Regions from separate parts of the Homo sapiens genome. Here regions 1, 2, 4 and 5 are each linked to region 3. Evidence: promoter capture Hi-C in human tissues and cell types (Jung and others, 2019). All regions are on one chromosome and are shown on one strand. Each heading gives the region's core, a stretch centred on a gene start or on the middle of the fragment in contact. The rest is flanking DNA. Distances are from core to core; before and after follow the strand shown.

Evidence for each region. Contacts are between HindIII fragments. The study calls those that stand out against the background at their distance.
Region 1: a contact is called between a fragment that was not itself captured here and the fragment with the promoter of FLRT3 in region 3, in 1 of the 25 tissues and cell types used here (dorsolateral prefrontal cortex).
Region 2: a fragment that was not itself captured here is called in contact with the fragment with the promoter of FLRT3 in region 3 in 1 of the 25 tissues and cell types used here (lymphoblastoid cells).
Region 4: a contact is called between a fragment that was not itself captured here and the fragment with the promoter of FLRT3 in region 3, in 1 of the 25 tissues and cell types used here (dorsolateral prefrontal cortex).
Region 5: a fragment that was not itself captured here is called in contact with the fragment with the promoter of FLRT3 in region 3 in 2 of the 25 tissues and cell types used here (dorsolateral prefrontal cortex and mesenchymal stem cells).

Annotation. Positions count from the first base shown.
Region 1 is chr20:14,861,365-14,864,216 of GRCh38, forward strand. The region is part of intron 5 of MACROD2 (mono-ADP ribosylhydrolase 2); the gene reads left to right. Among named protein-coding and RNA genes, the nearest start is that of MACROD2-AS1, 67 kb to the right of the region's middle. The HindIII fragment of the contact is 5,024 bases long and covers 1-2,852 here.
Region 2 is chr20:14,966,093-14,968,792 of GRCh38, forward strand. All of the region lies in intron 5 of MACROD2 (mono-ADP ribosylhydrolase 2), which reads left to right. Among named protein-coding and RNA genes, the nearest start is that of MACROD2-AS1, 38 kb to the left of the region's middle. The HindIII fragment of the contact is 6,624 bases long and covers 1-2,700 here.
Region 3 is chr20:14,336,171-14,338,912 of GRCh38, forward strand. FLRT3 (fibronectin leucine rich transmembrane protein 3) reads right to left here and starts at 1,442. Exons shown (of 3, transcript NM_198391.3): 1 at 1,234-1,442. All of the region lies in intron 3 of MACROD2 (mono-ADP ribosylhydrolase 2), which reads left to right. The HindIII fragment of the contact is 3,050 bases long and covers 514-2,742 here.
Region 4 is chr20:14,945,184-14,947,979 of GRCh38, forward strand. All of the region lies in intron 5 of MACROD2 (mono-ADP ribosylhydrolase 2), which reads left to right. Among named protein-coding and RNA genes, the nearest start is that of MACROD2-AS1, 17 kb to the left of the region's middle. The HindIII fragment of the contact is 6,808 bases long and covers 1-2,796 here.
Region 5 is chr20:14,879,051-14,881,750 of GRCh38, forward strand. All of the region lies in intron 5 of MACROD2 (mono-ADP ribosylhydrolase 2), which reads left to right. Among named protein-coding and RNA genes, the nearest start is that of MACROD2-AS1, 49 kb to the right of the region's middle. The HindIII fragment of the contact is 4,918 bases long and covers 1-2,700 here.

The DNA.
Region 1 (2,852 bases), core at 248-2,747, 530 kb after region 3:
CCACGTCCTAGAGATTTTGACGTAATGACTTTTTTTTGTGGTCATCAAGACACAGTCATAGAAAGACACAGTCACTGACTAAGAGACAGTGGCAAAGCTAGGAACAAACAGGAAAGAAATACCCTGACCTTCCTCTCCTACTCTCTGATATCCTGCTGATGCCTCCAATTAGAAGCCAGACTATGAGGGAGCTGGGGGAATGCACTCTGCATGGATCAACCTCCTGTAGTCTATGTAGTGGGGAAAATGGGTGAATAACCAGCACAGAGCTCACAATAAACCCCACAAACAGCCTCTGTCCCTCCCACACACAACCCCAGGAATTAGAAGGAAGGGCAGACTGGCACTTTCTCATTAAGGTAACTCACTCATGCCATCTTGGCATTGAGCTGGGCACTTTTAGGTGGAATGACCTCCCGAAGGGCTAACCCCATCTGGCACCTCTTGACAACGTTCCTTCTTAATATCAGTGGCTCTCCTGCTGCTGGCCAAGCAGGACCCCAAGGTCCACTGGGATGTACATACTTATGGTATTATGCTCTGCAATACTTGTGGGGGCTGTGGAATGCACACTTCCAAAGTGAAATAGGACATTGGAGGTTTTATATATAAATATATATATATATATTTATATATATATTTATATATATATATTTATATATATTTATATATATTTATATATATATTTATATATATATAAATATATATAAATATATAAATATATATAAATATATATTTATACATAAATATATAAATATATAATATATATAAATATATATTATACATAAATATATAAATATATATAAATATATATAAATATATATTTATACATAAATATATAAATATATATATATATAAATATATATAAATATATATTTATATATTAATATATATAAATATATTACTATGTATATTTATATATATTTATATAAATATATATAAATATATGTAAATATATATATAAAAATATATATTAATATATAAAAATATATATATAAATATATATAAATATATATATAAATATATATAAATATATATATATAAATATATATAAATATATATATAAATATATATAAATATATATATAAATATATATAAATATATATATATAAATATATATAAATATATATATAAATATATATAAATATATATATAAATATAAATATATATAAATATATAAAAATATATATATAAATATAAATATATATAAATATATATGTATAAATATATATATAAATATAAATATATATAAATATATATATATAAATATATATATAAATATATATATATAAATATATATATAAATATATATAAATATATATATAAATATATATAAATATATATATATATATTTTTTTTTAATAGAGAGGATGAAGACCAAAGCAGTGAGTTCCACCTAAGCTGGCCCTTGCCTTTTGTCTAACAGGAAACCCAGTCCTTCCTAATGGGCACAGAATTTTCAGAGAAGAGAGCAGAAGTTGAGTTGGCATACCTACTGTAGTGAGGGATTTTGAACAATGAGCTGTACATTCCTATATGGGAGCCAAACTTTTAGTTAAATAGTAATACAAAAATGCTGATGTGGATGCCACGGCTTCCTCCTTTCACACAGAAGATGGGCAGTGACTACACATTTAGGTTCACCTTGCATGAAGCCACGCTATAGTTTCTAATAAGGTATTATTAGTATTCACTAGCCATTCTCCAAGGGTTGGCTTCAAATGAGATCAGTAAAGCAGAAGCAAATCACCCACGGGTTCTTTCACAGTTTCTTTCACCCTAAGCCTCTCATTTCACTAGACAACTGTAGGAAGAAAAACGAGATCCCTGAAGGGCAGCAACTTTTCATAAACTGCACTTGCAGTTTTGCCAATGCACATATCTGTGGGCTCATTGCACAGGCAGCGCTTATATCTATGGGCACATTTCACATTGTAGATTTCTTGTCCTTTCTGATTTTCTCCCCGATCACACTGATACAGGCCACTTCCAGTGCCTCTGTAAAGCTCCAAGGGGTAAAGGAGGGCAGGGGTGAGGAGTAAAGGAACGATTCTTACAGGTGTTGTGAACACGACTATTTTATATCAAATGCTTCTAATTGAATAGTTTAACTTAAAAACATGTATCACAAATACAGTTTGACCAACTGTAACAATATCAAAGCATATTGAACAGGAAGTGAAAGTCTTTGGGTGTGGATAGAGATTTCCAGAAAAATATAGTTACATAAATGTGAGTTTCCAAATTGTAAAGAAGAAAAAAGACATATCTGGCTTAATATATATAACATTAATATCATGCATAGAGATTCTATTAATAACATTTGTCAGCCACTATTGCTAAGAGCTTTACATCCATTTTATCCTCACATCAATACTATTAAAGAGGAACTATTATTATCTTCATACGATAGATGAAAAAACAAAGGCTGTAAGAGTTTAAGAAACTTGTCCAAAATCATGTAGCTAGAAAGCGGCCAAGCCAGGATTCAGACCTTGGTTAACCCACTTACAAACTCTAAACTCACTTCTCCATTGTTAAACTTGACTAGTGCATTGGCTTACAATGAAGTTTGCCATATTCTTCCCTCAAATCTGTATTTTTAATAAGTTGCTAGGTGATTTTTATGGTCAGGAGAAGTGGGGCCATACTACATGATGTAGGCTATTTCCTGAGTATAGATAATTTCTTTCTTTTCCCTTAGGTGTCCATTTTCTAAAATGTGGATGAGAACACTCTCTATGTGTCCTGCAAAATTTAAAAAGTTTCCATTTTAAAATATGTTTTATAAATACTAAATAACATGTCCTTTTCTTGCTGCCTAAGACATGATTATTGGTATGAAAATGCTA
Region 2 (2,700 bases), core at 63-2,562, 630 kb after region 3:
AATCCTGAAGACATTTCTCTTTTGGATAACTGTGGTTTTAAACTCCATAAGCAATAAAGCCACTGTCAATGGAATTATTTTAGATGTTATCTTTTGACGATGGATTATGTTTTTTCTTGTCTTTTTAATATTAATTTACATTTAGTTATGTCATATAGTAAAGCATGCTAATCTTAAGCATATGTACTTGTGTAACCACCTCCGATGAAGATATGGAACATGCCTATAATCCCAGCACTTTGGGAGGCTGAGGCAGGGGGAGCGTTTGAGCCCAGGAGTTTGACACCAGCCTGGACAGCATAGTGAGACTCCATTTCTACGAAGAATAAAAAAGTCATTAAAGCATGGTGGTGCATGCCTGTAGACCCAGCTACTCAGGAGGCTGAGGTGAGAGGATTGCTTGAGGCCAGGTTGTCAAGGGTGCAGTGAGCTGTGATTGTGTCACTGCACTCCAGCCTGGGCAACAGAGCAAGAACCTGTCTTCAGATGCTTCTTCATCACCCTTCTCATTTCATCCTCTCTTCCCGTACAAAGCAGCCATTCTTCTGAGCTCTGTCATCATCCATTAGTTTTGCCTGTTCTTGAACTTCATGTAAATAGATTCATACTATATGTTCTCTTTTGCATCTAGACTCTTGCTCAACAAGACATTTTGAAGTAATCTATGTTGTTGCATATACAAACAATTCATTTTTTACACTACCATGTAGTATGCCATTGTATGTACAGGCATTTTTTTATCACTGTTGTGCCAATGGGTATTTGAATTTTTCCTATTCATAATTTAACAATTATGTATAAAGCTGCTATGAACATTCTTGAAGCTGTCTTTTCATGAGCAATTACATTCACATTTCTCTGAAATATATACAGGAATTGAATTGTTTAAACAAATAATTTATGGTATGTGTGTAATAGTGGATATGTATTGATGGGTGTGTACTGATATTTCAATGTGGTTTTAATTTGCATTTCCTTGAAAAGAATGACATTGAATACTTTTTCATGTTCTTATCAGCCATTTGAATCTTTTTTTGTAAATGCTTCAAGTCTTTGCTGATTTTAAAATCAATTTCTTTCTAAATGATTTTTGTTAGTTTTGTTTGTTTGTTTGTTTTGAGACGGAGTCTCTCTCTGACACCCAGGCTGGAGTGCAATGGTGCCATCTCTGCTCACTGCAACCTCCACCTCCCTGGATCAAGCAATTCACCTGCCTCAGCCTCCTGAGTAGCTGGGATTACAGGTATTTTTAGTAGAGACGGGGTCTCACCATGTTGGCCAGACTGGTCTCGAATTCCTGAACTCAGGCAATCCGCCCGCCTCGGCCTCCCAAAGTGCTAAGATTACAGGCGTGAGCCACCGTGCCTGGCCGGTAGTTTTGTTTGTTTGTTTGTTTTTGTTTTTTTTGAATGCTTTGGATTTGAGTCCATCATCAGATATAGACTGTGAATATTATTTCTCAGTCTGTGTCTTGCCACTTCACTCTCTTAGTGTCAACTTTTGATGAACAGAAACTCTACAAATTAGACTTAAATGTAATTTTTTAAATGATTAATGATTGTTTCCTGTTTAAGTAAACTTGCCTATTCCATTTCTTATTTTCTTATTTATCCAATTCTCTTCCATGCTAGTGCTTTTGAGTTCTATGTGAGAAGTCTGCCAATTTACTTCATATTTTCTTAAGCAAAATATTTTGAACAAAACTTAGCTTTCCTAATGACTCAGGGTCCTCATTTTTAATAGTAATTACTACTGTCCAATAAATTTTATATAACCTACCCGATAGTGTTGTTACCAGGATAAGGAAGATATGTATGAAAATTCTTGATACATGCAGGCTGTTGTCCTTTTTGTTCTACTCTAATACTTCTTATTCTTATTAAGGGTATAGGACAGTTATTAATATTTTTATGCTCAGTGGTTTTCGACAACTCTAAATTTTAAGTTATTATATCAAATTCTGGGCTGGACAGGTAAGGTGTTTGCCATACATGATTGCAATTGTGAGGTTTCTTTGTGTATAAAGTCTTTAAATTTATATGGTAGGTCAAAAAACATATTAGCTGATAATAATACTTACTTTCAAATATCACTTAAAATTTCTCTTCAAAAGCATTTTTTTAAATCTCTTTTTAACACCTTGACCCAATGAAGTAAAATAAACAAGATGATACTCCCGTTAAATGTGTGTACAATCATTCAGCTGCTGTGGCAGAATATACAACAGTTCTCAGCCCTGTGTGGTCCTTTCTCAATTTGTCACTCAATTGATTGTACTCATACATGTGTTAGACCAACATCCTCAATACCGTTTGTTGGTTAGCATCATCTGGGGAGACTGTAAAAGCATAAGAATATTCAGCTACCAACCCAGGGGGTTCTTTAAATTAGTGGGACTGGGGTGGTGTCCAGGCATCAGTTGTAAAAAAAAAGAAAAAAAATATTTTATTGTGCAACCTGGACGTGATTCTCCTGTTGGCTTGGGGCAGGGTTATGCAAACTTCAGCATGCATTAGAATCACCTGAAGGGCTTGTTCAAGCACAGACTGGGGGGCTCCACCCCCAGAGTTTCTGATTCAGTAAGTCTGGATGGACCCAAGAATTTGCAATACTGGAAAGTTTTCAGATGATGCTGATGCTGCTGGCTGGGGACCACAGTTCGATAACCTCTGGATTAGATAGCCATCACCATCCCTACCA
Region 3 (2,742 bases), core at 192-2,691:
GGACTTTTCTAGTGGCTTTATTTATGTTGTTTCTGGATAATAAAATAACATAGATGAGCATTTTAGACAGATTTATTAATAGACAGATTTATTAAGAATGTTTAAAATAGCCTTATTATTAAAACCATTAGAGATTTTGGACTAAAAATTGAAAAAAAAATCAATTTTTTTTCTTTTAAATTCTAAATAAAATAATAAAAACAAACCCCCCAGATGTTGAGAAGACATGGATGGGCCTGTTGCACTCTTTACCTATATGCAACCATTTTGTTTCAGACCTAATTCAGTGAACAAAATTTTTTGAGAAGATACATTTAACTACTTTTTCAAGCTTTGTAGTATAAATGCATTTCTTCCAATATAAGATTTTCCTATTATAAGTTGCAAAGAATGGATCCTCTGCAAAACCCACTTGATAAGGGCTCTACTCATTTATTTTTCTTTCCTGCTACCCCAAACTCACTGCATACATCAGGCATAGCTTCCAGGGTGAGCTTTGTTAGTTTTTCTGAGTAGACTTAGCCATTTACTATGCTAGTCACATACTTCACTTGCCTAAGCAATGGATTTTGGTGTTCTATTGAAGAGGGAATATGGTTTGGAAGAGTGTCTCCCCCTCCTCTGAGTTCAATTTACTAGTTGAGATTTGCAAGCCTGAAATGCTTGAAGCAGCTCAGGCACGATAGCAGTGCAAGCTTTAAAATCTAGGTGTAGCTGTTAATCCTTTACAGAGGCACATAAGTCTCCAGGAGTAGCTCGGCTAGCTGTGAGCAAGATGTATGCTTTTCATGTACTGCGTACTCATGGGCTGAGGGATTATTGATTTTCTTTCACAGTTGTAAAAACAGCAATTGGTGATCATCCCACACGTACAGTACACACCAAGTTGCTTTCCTATCTGTGAAGAATCTCCTTGTATTCTTTAATATTTAACATTGAACTTTCCAACTTGCTGTTTTCCATAAGGCTCTTTTCACATAGCAATTACTCAAGACAGAAAATAGCCACTTACTATCTTTTATAAATGAAAGAAGGTTCTAAGAAACTTCTTACATTCAGCCATGATAGTGAAATTTTTCATTGCTGGCTTGCACGCACATATATTGCTTGTTGTGGTGACAGAGCAAACGTTCCTATTTGGATTTCTCATAGTATCAAGTCGTTTCTTTCTAGAGAGTAAAACCAAGCAAACTTTCTGGGACAATCATAAGAAAAAACATGGAAAACACTTACCAGGAAGACGAGAAAAAGCAATCCTATATACACTGCCGCTATAGCTGTAATTCCATTGACAGTGAATTGGAGTAATAGCCCTCCCCCGTCTCCCAAGCTCTGCGTCCAGTCCACACAAAGCCCACGGCAGCTGCAGGCTGAGCTTGTCCTGCTTCAGATCACTCCTACACTGAGGAGTGAGCGAGGGAGAGCATTCCAGTTTACTGCACACAGCCCACCTCCAAGTCTGAAGTTTAAAGCTTCACCTCGCAGTGGCTGAAGAAGGGGGTGATGTCATAGATGGGCAGGACTTAGCCAAGATCTTGTTCAGTGAGGTAACTGGATAATCAGACAGATGAGCTTTGCAAACGCTAGAGGGGGCGAGAGCAGCCAAAATGAAGCATCAGCCTGCCAAAGCTAGGATGCCATTTGGTTTGTAGGCAGCCCTTTGGAATCTCAACATTTTCTAAAGTTTACTACAAGGCAGTGGTAGCATACTTATGTATTTTTTTTAAAAAGCATGTTAGAAAGATATTTTTAAGATCACAATAGAAAAAGACAGGCTTTGTCTTATTTTTAAACCATCTGTATTGAAAAGAAGTTAACCAAAATCAAATTAGTTTTATTATTCACTAGCTAAAATAATGTTATAATTGTGGAAGATGTATGCCAGTAATCCCAACTGTGAATGTTTATTCAACATATGAATAAACAGCAGATTCAAATATATACATCAGGGCTGGGTGTGGTGGCTCACGCCTCTAATTCCGGCACTTTGGGAGGCCGAGGTGGGAGGATCACCTGAGGTCAGGAGTTCGAGACCAGCCTGACCAACATGTAGAAAAAATTAGCTGGGCGCCCGTAATCCCAGCTGTTTGGGAGGCTGAGGCAGGAGAATCACTTGAACCCGGGAGGCAGAGGTTGCAGTGAGCCAAGATTGCACCATTGCACTCCAGCCTGGGCAACAAGAACGAAACTCCATCTCCAATATATGTATATATATACACGTGTCACTGATTCATTTAGTTATGGGAAGGGCAATAGGAATGCCAAAAGATTTTTTTAAATGGTATTAAATGGTCTGTTCTTTTGGAGGCGAAGAAGTTACTGTTCTCTATGTTTTAGAAAATGAAAGTATGTTTTATGTACTTCTGCTACGTGTTTATATTATTTAAAATGGATTATTTATATTTAACGATCCCCCAATAAAATGTTTTTAAAAAATTTAATAGAATATTTTCCTTTCTAAATGTTTTTGCTGATCTGAGCATGGGTTTAGATATAAACATCTTAAGAAAAAAATCTTTCAGGGTGGTTTGCCTGGATTGAAATTATTTTAGTTTAATTTAGGTACATGAATAAACACTGGACAATTGTAAGACGTGGAGATTATAAATTTCTATGCCTAATTAACAGAATTATACTTGTATTTTTAATTATGATTTTTGTAGACTGGTTTCTGCTATTTGGTCAACAATTGCTTTGTGCCCGTAAGTTTTCCATCAAATAAGTGTATTTCACTTGTTCATG
Region 4 (2,796 bases), core at 162-2,661, 610 kb after region 3:
CTTGGCTCACTGCAACCTCTGCCTCCCAGGTTCAAGCGATTCTCCTGCCTCAGCCTCCCAAGTAGCTGGGATTTAATAGAGCTGGGTTTTCATCATATTTGCCAGGCTGGTCCTGAACTCCTGACCTCAAATAATCTGCCCGTCTTGGCCTCCCAAAGTGCTGCTGGGATTTCAGGTATGAGCCACCATGCCTGGCCAACTTTTCCTTTGAGAAATCAAGTCAGGAAACACTGGACCAGCATTCTGGACTGAAGACAGGGGCGTCAAGGTTACAAGTGGCTGTCACCTTAGTAAGGGTGTGATTGTCCACTTCACCAGCCAGCCCACTTCATTGTATCATCTTCTTGGACCTTGCAGCCTTTACATTTGGGTACCTTCCTTGCTAAATAACATCACCTTAGTCTTATTTATTAAAGGATTACCAATTGCAAAGCTGTTTTCTAGGAACTCCTGGGTATATGGAGATGTGTAAGAAGAACCGAATGCTTTTAAAGAGCTTGGGGGAATGAACTGCGGGAGACAAAAGCAAGCATGTGACTGTCCTGTGATAGCAAAGTACTTGCATGGAATGATCCCTTAAAGGAGGGTGAGAAAATAAAATGAGAAAATAAACTTAGTAGCTCACTATTTGGGTATTTTTGTATACTCACATAGAGTTTTATGGTGGCCTCACTTGTTATTGATACTCTAATTATTGTTGATGAAATTTATCTGCATTTTAGTAAGAATTTCATATAATGCAGGCTGTGTGAAGTGGCTTATGCCTGTAATCCTAGCACTTTGGGAGGCCGAGGTGGGTGGATCACCTGAGGTCAAGAGTTCGACACCAGCCTGGCCAACATGGTGAAACCCTGTCTCTACTAAAATTAGCCGGGCATATTGGCGAGTGCCTGTAATCCCAGCTACTGGGGAGGCTGAGGCACGAGAACTGCTTGAGCCCAGGAGGTGGAGGTTGCAGCGAGCCAAGATTGTGCCATTGCACTCCAGCCTGGGTGACAAGAACAAAACTCTGTCTCAAAAAAAAAAAAATTGTATAAACTGGAAACTCAGTGAATGTTGTGGAATAAATGCAAATTAATCTTTTTCCAAGTAAGCAAATTCTCAAAGTATGTTTCTTTAGAATATTTTTTGTTGATCACTATCTATCTAGTTCTATCACATATCTGTATCTAAATACCAATAATATATGGATTTTAAAGAAGATGATATATATCAGAAAAAATTACACTTAAAATTTTTCCAATATGTTGTATTTAAATAAAATACAAGGGGCATTATCAGGTTAATTAATTGCAGATAAAAGTAAATATAGATATATATGAGCCTTTTTCTTTCTTTTTTTTACTTTTACTCTGCTTGGTGTTGCATAAATATGATAGCATATAATTTTTGATGCAGGATTTTTTCACTTTATGTTGAGATGTTTTGTATGCTGAAATAAAAATATGAGAATAAGCAATAATTATTGTAAGGTCAGCATCTGTTGATTTTCTTTTCCTCCAGGTAAAAATAGACATTAGTTTATCAGTTTAGAGAAAAGAACACAGGTGCTTCCTAGTGGCAGGCACCTAGCACACTCCAAGTAGGAATTCATAGATATGCCTTTTTAAAGTTTATTTCTTTTAATTCACTTTCATTCCACGTGATTTATTTTTTGTGGAGGGAAGAAGTAGATTCAATTTTGTATTCTCCCCCAATGGCTGATGAAAGTATGGACAATGTGTATTTTGCTATGCATGTGAGGTGTATGTGTGCATGTACAACACATACACATATATATTTTGGTGGAGACACAAAGGACATTTATTTGGGCAACTCCAAACCTGTTTAAGTTTGATCCCTTCCAGATGGCCGGATACCTGGCTGTCGGATCCTTGGCTCAGCCCATTTCTTATCTCCCAAATATCCCTTTGTGCTTCTCTGAGAATACGGCATATCTTAGAGCTGGATGAGTTTCCTGTTAGGACAGCTCACAGATTCGCCGAGCAAGCTGGGGACAGTCAAAGTTGTCTTACAGAAAAGGCTCACATCTTTTAACAAATGTACGTCTTTGAAAAGTGCATTTTGCTCTATAACAATGTTTCTGGCTTTGTTATAGAGGCAGAACAGCAAAGTGAAGTGATTCAGAACATTGGGAAGACCAGCATGATTCCATTTCTGACTCCGGCATTGGCCACAGGCCCTTGTGTATGCTCTGCAAACTAGCTGAGCCTCAGTTTACCTTCCATACACGGGGGCACCAGCAGTACCTACCTCACAAGGGTGTTGTAAAGAATAAATGTGATAATTCAAGTAAAGGCTTTAGCAAGATGATTGGTTCATAATAAGTGGTAAACACATGGTAACTAATAGTAATAATATTGGTGCTAAGGCATTTGTGCTAAGACAGTGGGGCTCAAATTTGAGTGTGCATCAGAGTCACCTAGAGGGCTTATTAAAACACAGATGGCCTACCCCCCACCCTGCAGAGTTCTGACTCAGGAAATCTGGATTTTGCATTTCTAGCAAGCTCCCAGGGAATGCTAATGCTGCTGGCCCTAAAACTGCAGAATGACCACTGACCTAAGGCATTCAGACTCCAGACTATTTCTTGGGGCAGGTGAGGACTGCAGTTTGGTCATGGATCAGAGTGAAGGATCAGATGTGGGATTACATCCTTCAACCTTGGGCAATGCTTCTACAGCCACGATCCTGGTAGCTCAATGCTGGCCCAGTGTTTATCAAGTACAACAAAAATAGGAAGTCCTGTATTTGCTTACATCTACCATTCAACAACTCACAAAAACTTTCTATCTT
Region 5 (2,700 bases), core at 26-2,525, 540 kb after region 3:
GGTTTTCACCTTACTCATCTCTGTTGTACTGACAAATGGACTGTGAGCTCCGTATTTTTTATCTTCACCCTTATGCATTGCGTAATTAAAACCTTGTACACAGTACAGGTTCAGCAAACACACACTGAATAAATTAATAAGTAGGTGAATAGTTTTGTTGTTTACATTCACTAACAACCCATTCTGATTCATGTTTACATGGACAGAAAAAGAATGAGTTGATTATTAACTAAATTTAATGTATGTCATCTGTATACCTAAATTCTTTGGGTTAATATTAAAAAAGTATTCTTCCAAGTTAGCATGAATTTGACCTATCTTTTAGAGTGTTCAGATTGGTTCACTCATGTTGACATTAGTCAGTTTTGAAATTCAGACATAAAGGTATACACATATAGATTTGACATTTGAGATTAACTTACTTTTTTCCAGTTAGATTATGGAAGAGATAAACAATGACTCAGAGGAAAATGGAGAGGCTATAGAGGTGAAATACTGTAATAATGTGGCTAAACTTGCTTGAGAGAAGATGAGACATAAGCCTGCTTTGTTAGTCCTTTCATAGAGAAATGACTCAGCACTGTTAGAGAATATGATGAGGTTACATTGTTCTTTCATCACAAACTGTTGAGTTAATGGTGGCATATATAGAGTATAGCTCTGATTCATAAGACAATTGGTCATTGTGCTTCTCTCTTTTTATTTTTTAAAGCAAATTAGTGCTTTAAAAGAGCATAGTAATCTGGTTCTTTTCATGAAAACTGATGATTAAAAACAAACTACGAAAATAATTTTAAATACACCTGGGTTTCCAAATGGACAGAGGTTGTTGAAAGTCATTTTTAAGTTCCTTCAAAGCTACAAAGTCTATGTGTTTCTCAAATTATCTTTTGCAAATCTTAGTAGGAATTAAACTTGTGCAAATCCAACCCCTGGCTCTTTTTAGCCTCGTGAGAGCAGAGTATGCATCGTGCTTTCGTTTTGGATGAGAAATATACAAACTGTGTGTTGACTGGTGGAAAGCAGAACAATGGATCTCAGCAAATTGTATCATGCCCAGCTCTGACTTGAGACGCAGAATCAATTCATTTTCAGTGTCATGACAGGATCTGAGATAGAAGTGAGTCTCTTGTTGCCATCATGAGAAAAGATACGTATGTCCACAGTTTTGGGGAGAGGGAGCATGGGAGCTGGGTGCTTCACTGCCAACACAGCCTCTGATCACCTGATATGTTACAAAATCAATTTTATCTTCTGCTGCATTTCATGTGACAATTCAAAGAGCAACATTTGTTTTTCTACTCTTTACATTCTCAACTTCCATGGAGGCATAATTGCCATGAGTTAAAGCTAGGAGGAGAGTGATCACTGCACACTGATTTGGATATAAAATCTATGGCCATTTGAAAGGGAAACCTTCAAGAGCCCACGTAATAAATCCCCGAGGAACTTAAGAGAGATGAACTGTACCTAATTGCATCTGACATGGCTAAAACACAGGGACCTCTCTAAAGAGTGTGAGGGCAGGTCCCCAAATCCTCTGCTCAGCACTATTCAAGGTTCAGAAGAATTCATGCATTTAGCTTATCTACAGCTATGTGGCAAAACACCCTTCAGCTGCAGTCAGCCTCCCTCTAATGACCAATGAGGAGAGGCCAAAAATTAAAGTTGTATAATCAGAGATTTTAAAGACAAACTGAAAAGAACTGGTGGAACCGTCTAACTTATGCCTTGGAATGGCATGCATTATTTTGTATATGATTTTGGGCCTCAGAACACAAACACAACTCCCTCCACAAAGGGGATGAGTTTGCTGGGCCAGAGTGGCCTCTTGTTGCTGGGAGCTACTGCCGCCCAGCGTGGGCAGCTGCAATCACAGTGCCCCTATCCCTGCCTGAGTGGTCCTGGAGGGTTGGAGAGCTGCGTGACTCCTCAAGACCTTTGTCACTAGCCTGTGTAATGCCTGTGCATGAGTCCTTGAAAGCAAATCCCCCAATTAGGGCCTACATGGCCTACCCTGAGGAGGGAAGAGGTGCAATACATGTTGCTTTTAACAATTCTTCATCAGGAATGAGAGGATGTTGCAATGGAAAGGAAAATATTAATTCCTGCTAGGCCCTTGTCAGTGGGATCTTCTCCCATTCTCTTCCTGCTGGAATTACAGATCCATAGGTTTTGGAGCCAGTCAGCCTGGGTTCTTTCATGCATTCCCTTCTTCTGGTGGGCTTGACCATACTAGATATCAAATACTGTGACTCAAAGTTCTACCACCTCTGTTGACTTAAAGGTCAAACCTAGAACAAGCCTTGGTCTCTAGGTCTAAGAGGCAAAATAAAAGCTGGTGAACCTTCTTACTGACAAGGCACTTGACTTCCCTGTGCCTCAGACTTCAAATCTATAAAACGAGACTCACTGTTCTTATCTCTGAGGTTTATTGCTTGGAATTGAATGGGGTAATTCATAAATTCCCTAGCCTGGCACCCCACACACGGCCTCTTCAAGAAGTTTCGGGGTAGCTCTCTTGCCAGTCAGCTGAGAAAACCAAGCAGTGAGAAGAGGGTCATATATTGACTTGGTTTTCATGCTGACAGGCTTTGGCATCTCCTCAAGCTTGTCCATACTCTACAGTGGCATTAAGAGAGTAGTGTCCTGCACTTGTGTTTGAGCACTGTGGAACATTCCTCAGGAGTTCTGGCTGAG